Linked DNA regions of Homo sapiens: region 2 is linked to region 1. Evidence: promoter capture Hi-C in 16 types of primary human blood cells and fetal thymus (Javierre and others, 2016). All regions are on one chromosome and are shown on one strand. The core of a region is centred on a gene start or on the middle of the fragment in contact, and the rest is flanking DNA. Distances in the headings are between cores, read along the strand shown. Region 1 holds the start of TAOK3 (TAO kinase 3). Region 2 overlaps RPL6 (ribosomal protein L6).

Region 1 (2,738 bases), core at 118-2,617:
GTCCCGGGGGCTCACACTCCACCCTCAGGGAGGTCGCTGATGCCAGACCCTGGGAGCACCTCCCCGCTCCACTCGTCTGCGCTGCAGCCGGTTCCTATTTGCCCGACGCCGCGACTGCGACCCAGGCTCCCCGCCGCAGCCGTTCTTGGGGGGGCTCCCGCAACTCAGCGGGCGCGACCCCCCGCCCGCTCCCTCGCTGCTCACGCCGGGCCCCCGCTATGTGACTGGGGGCCCGACCCGCACCCATGGGGCACCGCTCCTCCCTCGGGGTCCGCGCCTGCACCCGACGCTCAAAGCCCCTCTCGGAGTCCCACGCTCGCATGCGCTGTCCCGAGCCCTCTGGGGGTCCCCTCCTCTCACCCCGCTGTCCTGGCCCCTCTCGGGGTCACCCTGCTCCCACCCGCTGTCCCGGCCTCTCTCTAGGTGTCCTGCTCTCAGCCCCGCTGTCTCAGCCCAGCCCCCTTCCGGGACCCCTCCTCTTCTCCCACTGTCTTGGCCCTTCCTGGGGTCTTCTCACACTCTGTTCTAAGCCCTCTGGGGATCCCCTGTCTTCACATCCCCTGACCGGTCCCCTCTCTTTACTCTGTCCTGGATTCTCTCTGGGTCCCCTCCCCTCACCTCGGGGTCTCCTCTCCCCGGGTGCTGTCCCAGCCCCTCTCGGGGTCCCCATCTCTCAGACTCTCAGTGCCGGCCCCTCTCGGGGACCCTTCCCCTCTCCCCGCTGTCCCTGACCTTTTCTGGGACCTGGTCCTTCAGGGGACCCCCTCCCCTCATCCCCCTATCCTAGTGCCTCATGAGGCACCCACCCCTCACCCCACTACCCCAGCCCCTCTCCGGGTCCCTTCCTCTCACGCGCACTGTCCCGGCCCCTCTTGGAGACCCCTCCCCTCAGACTTTCAGTCTTGGACCCTCTCGGAGTCCTCTCCACTCAGAGCCACTGCCTCGGTCCCTCTCGGAGTCCCCTCTCCTCACCCGCTGTCCCGGTCCCTCCCGGGGTCTCCTCTCCACAGTCTGCACTGTCGAGCCCGCTCCCGCAACTCCCCTCACTCTGCCTGGGGTCCCGCCGCCTCGGCTCCCACTGTCATGCCCCGCGCCCCGGTGCTCTCACCTCAGACCTGCTGTCACCACCCCCGGGCCCGGCGCCGCCGCCGCCGCTTCCTCTCCCACACTTGTTCCTGAGTCGCTCTCCTGTGGCTTGTTCCCCGGCGGATCCTTGGGTCCGGTCGCTGAGTGCCGGATCCGGCTGTGCGCAGCCTCTGCTCGCGGTCTCGGCGTTGCGTCCCACTCTCCACGCAGGACCCCGCCGCCCGGCGCCACAAGGACCCTCCCGCGGCCGCCGCCGCTGCTGCTGTCCGAGGTGCGGCTCCTGCCAGGGGTGGCCAATCGCACCGGACTGCGCCGAGCACGCCCCGCCCCACCGTCTCAGTCCGCCCGCCCCCTGCCCCGGACCACGCCCCAAGCTCGGCTCCAATAGGCTCTCTACTGACCTTCCCTGATCGCGGGGCACAGGGCCGGGGCCGTATATAGGTATTTGATTGATGGAGCCTGGGAAGCCGAGCGGTCGATGGAACCCGAGGATTGGCGGAGTTGTCGATGGGCGGGACAGGGCAGGGCGGGGTCTCCTCAGACGCGGAAGACCTTGCAACTTTAGTAACCTACGGGCCCGCCTGGGGTGCGGTCAGTCTTGTTTGTGCTGCTCTCCGGTCAAAGTTCATGGCGCTTCTCCCCACGCCTTTACTTTTCTTGGGAGATTCCCAGGGACCACCATGTTAGAGCCTTTGGGGAGGACCCCAGTCTCTCGCTAGACCTTGCACAGCTTTCTTAGTAATTCTGCCATGAACTAATATAGCATTAATTTGCCCAGGATTTGTAAAAATTTCCTGGATTTAAACCATTTCTTTTTAAAATCTCTTGCAAGGGAGTTGCCTCTCCTTGAATTGAGTTCAGCAGCCGTCAGTTTGATACCGTTGGGGGAAAAAAAATCTATATACAGTACTAGGTGCATACTTTGCCCAACTAAGCGTTCAATGCGGGGCACATTTTGATAGGTGCAAGGACAAAGCTTTAGAAATTTTCAGTTTGTAGGTTTTTATGACAGTAGGAAGACTGTGGTAGGGGAACCCTATTATTAGCTTAACAAGGTTTCAGCAAAGCTATTCAATATAACCTTTTTCCAGGGCCACAGGTTTTAATGATTCTATGTGAACGTGTGGCCAAAGGATAACGAGCTTTGACCCAGGTTTAACATGTGATAATCAGAGACTCCTCTTGATCCACGCTAAAGGATAGTGCCTGCCAGGGGTGAAAGTGCATCATGCTACTAAGACCCATTTGTGTTATTTTTGTGAAACTGGATATGCTGATCAAATCAACACCGGAAACAGAAAACTGCTTTCCTTACTCTTAACGCCAAAAGTAAGTTTATGGACTTTAGAATTTAGCATTTTATGAAGAAATTGTCTCAGGAACACATTTTGATCCTAAGTTTTGTCAGATGTATACAGGCCTTAGTTCTCAGAGAACCCTCGATTGTTAACTTTTTAACTCCAGCTGACAAAATGTGTTTGTGTTCTAAACAGTATACATGTTTCTTCTAGTGTTTTAAGAATCATACGCCATTCATCACCTGAGGTCAAGGGTTCCAGACCTGCCTGGCCAACATGGTGAAATCCCGTCTGTACGAAAAATACAAAAATTAGCCGGGCATGGTGGCACCCACCTGTAATCCCAGCTACTAG
Region 2 (2,738 bases), core at 123-2,622, 6.0 Mb before region 1:
AATAATCTTTTGTTATAAAAGCAGTATATGTGCTTTTAGAAAGTTAGCTCATGTGGGTAAGTAAAAGAAAATAAAGACACATGCCAGGCATGGTGGCTCACGTCTGTAATCCCAGCACTTTGGGAGGCTGAGGCAGGAGGATCACTTGAGGTCAGGAGTTCCAGACCAGCCTGGCCAACATGGTGAAACCCTCTCTCTACTAAAAATACAAAAATACAAAAAAAAAAAAATTAGTTGGGCAGAGTGGCAGGCGCCTGTAATCCCAGCTATGCAGGAGGCTGAGGCAGAAGAATCACTTGAACTTGGGAGGCAGAGGTTGCAGTGAGCCGAGATGGCACCACTGCACTCCAGCCTGGGCGACAGAGCAAGACTCCACATCACTTATGCCACATTCTATTGGTCAAAAGGGGCAGAATCTGTTTGATCCCAAATCTTTGAAACAATGCAGAGGCTAGTGCAATGATTCTCAAAGTAGGATCTAGGGATCTTTTTTTTTTTTTTTTTTTTTTTTTTTGAGACGGAGTCTCGCTCTGTCGCCCAGGCTGGAGTGCAGTGGTGGGATCTCGGCTCACTGCAAGCTCCGCCTCCCGGGTTCACGCCATTCTCCTGCCTCAGCCTCCCAAGTAGCTGGGACTACAGGCGCCCGCCACTACGCCCGGCTAATTTTTTGTATCTTTAGTAGAGACGGGGTTTCACCGTTTTAGCCGGGATGGTCTCGATCTCCTGACCTCGTGATCCGCCCGCCTCGTCCTCCCAAAGTGCTGGGATTACAGGCGTGAGCCACCGCGCCCGGCCGGATCTAGGGATCTTTAGATGTTCCTGAGATCCTTAAAAAGGGACCTGTGAAGTTAAAACAATTTGTCATACTACTGTTAAGACATTGTCCTTTTAACTCGAGTGTAGAATGGAGTTCTCCTGAGGTGTAATACATAATGTGATACTGCAATAGATTGAATAAAGCAGATATAAGAATCTGTCTCCTACGAAGCCAGACATGAAATACATTTGCAGAAATGTAAAACCATTGTCCTCATAATTTTTTGTTTTGGAAAAATTATTTTTTTAGAGACAGGGTCTTGCTCTGTTGCCCAGGCTGGAGTGCAGTGGTGCAATCACAGCTCACTGAAGACTCGAACTCCCAGGCTCAAGCCATCCTCCCATCTCAGCCTCTCAAGTAGCTGGAACCACAGGTACACGCAGGCTGGGCTTATTTATTTTTTGAGACAGAGTTTTGCTCTTGTTGCCCAGGCTGGAGTGCACACATTACAGGTGTGAGCCACTGTGCCTGGCTCAAGTTTTTTTTTTTAATAAAAATGTTACTTATATAAACATGACATGTCATTTTAAAATATTCTAGCAACTTTTTTTTTTTGAGACAGTCTTGCTCTGTCGCCCAGGCTGGAGTGCAGTGGTGTGATGTCACTTACTGCAACCTCTGCCTCCCGTCCAAATTCTCCTGCCTCAGCCTCCCGAGTAGCTGGGATTATAGATACCTGCCACCATGTCCAGCTAATTTTTTTTTGTATTTTTAGTGGAGATGGGGTTTCACCATGTTCGCCAGGCTGGTTTCAAAATCCTGACCTCAGCTGATCAGCCCACTTCGGCCTCCCAAAGGGCTGGGATTACAGGTTGAGCCATGGCACCCAGCCTTTTTTCACCTTTTTTGGACACAGGGTCTGTCATCCAGGATGGTGTGCAGTGGTGAAATCACAGGTCACCACAGCCTGGACCTCCTAGGCTCAAGTGAGCCTCCTGGCCCCACCTCCCAAAATGTGGGGGTTTCAGGTGGAAGCCAGCACACACAGCCCATTTTTCATTTTCCATTGGCAAAAATCCAAGTTTGATAACCTACCTATAAGAAGATGGGTACTCTGTACATTTCCAGAACAAATAAAGTGGTCTAACACTTGGGAGTGTTTGGAAGAATCTGCCAAAATTAAAATGCACAAATCTGGCAGGGTGTGGTGGCTTATGCCTATAATCCCAATACCTTGAGGTCTAGGCAGGAGGATAGCTAGAGCCCAGGAGTTGAACCAGCCCAGGCAATAGGAACTGGGGCCATATGTGATAAACGTGCCCATGAACAGCCACTGCACTGGCCTGGGAAACAAGAGCACGGCCTCATAATTATTGGGGAGGAGTTGAGAATTGAGCACAGCGGGGAGAAATGGGAGTTTGTTGTCTGAGTAGTCAGCAGTTATTCTCTTCTCTCATCCATGTACAGTTTAGCACTGACTTCTTCAGGGACGAGTGAGAAAATGCCACCACTTCACAATGGTAGAGGGTGGGTGAAAAAGTTATTAGCCAGGCACCAAGAACCAATCTGAAGCCAAGAACAGCAATGCAAAGCCAACAAACTAGCTCTCTTGTAGACACCACTCCCTTCCAATCCCATTCTCTACTAAGGAAAACCCCCAGGTGAGCTGGCATGGTCAAACTACACCTTCAGGTAGGTAAGAATTTTTTTTAAAAACCAAAAATTAAAAAAAGAGACACAAAATGTAGTCAGCTATTTAATTAGGTTCTTAAGACATTTAGAACACCAATTTGTGAGGATAAATTCCATTCGTCAGAGCAAACACAGATCGCAGGTAGCCCTGGAGCTGAGGAATAGCTTTGATTTTTGGTAAAATTTGTGAGTCCACAGCTTTCTGATCAATCTTGCGCTGCTCCGTAATCTCATATTTCTAAATAAAGAGAAAATCAAACATTTTAAAACAGGCACATACCAAATTACT

What was found. The method cuts DNA at HindIII sites, captures the fragments that hold promoters and counts their contacts. A CHiCAGO score of 5 or more calls a contact.
Region 2: a fragment that was not itself captured here is called in contact with the fragment with the promoter of TAOK3 in region 1 in 1 of 17 cell types (neutrophils); the score reaches 7.1 in neutrophils.

What each region holds. Positions count from the first base shown.
Region 1 is chr12:118,371,540-118,374,277 of GRCh38, forward strand. TAOK3 (TAO kinase 3) reads right to left here and starts at 1,368. Exons shown (of 21, transcript NM_016281.4): 1 at 1,109-1,368. RefSeq lists silencers at 208-297, 398-457, 1,242-1,491 and an enhancer at 1,812-1,861. The HindIII fragment of the contact is 12,374 bases long and covers 1-2,060 here.
Region 2 is chr12:112,402,690-112,405,427 of GRCh38, forward strand. It overlaps RPL6 (ribosomal protein L6), which reads right to left. Exons shown (of 7, transcript NM_000970.6): 7 at 2,500-2,687. The coding sequence ends at 2,535. Among named protein-coding and RNA genes, the nearest start is that of RPL6, 5.5 kb to the right of the region's middle. The HindIII fragment of the contact is 3,014 bases long and covers 1-2,738 here.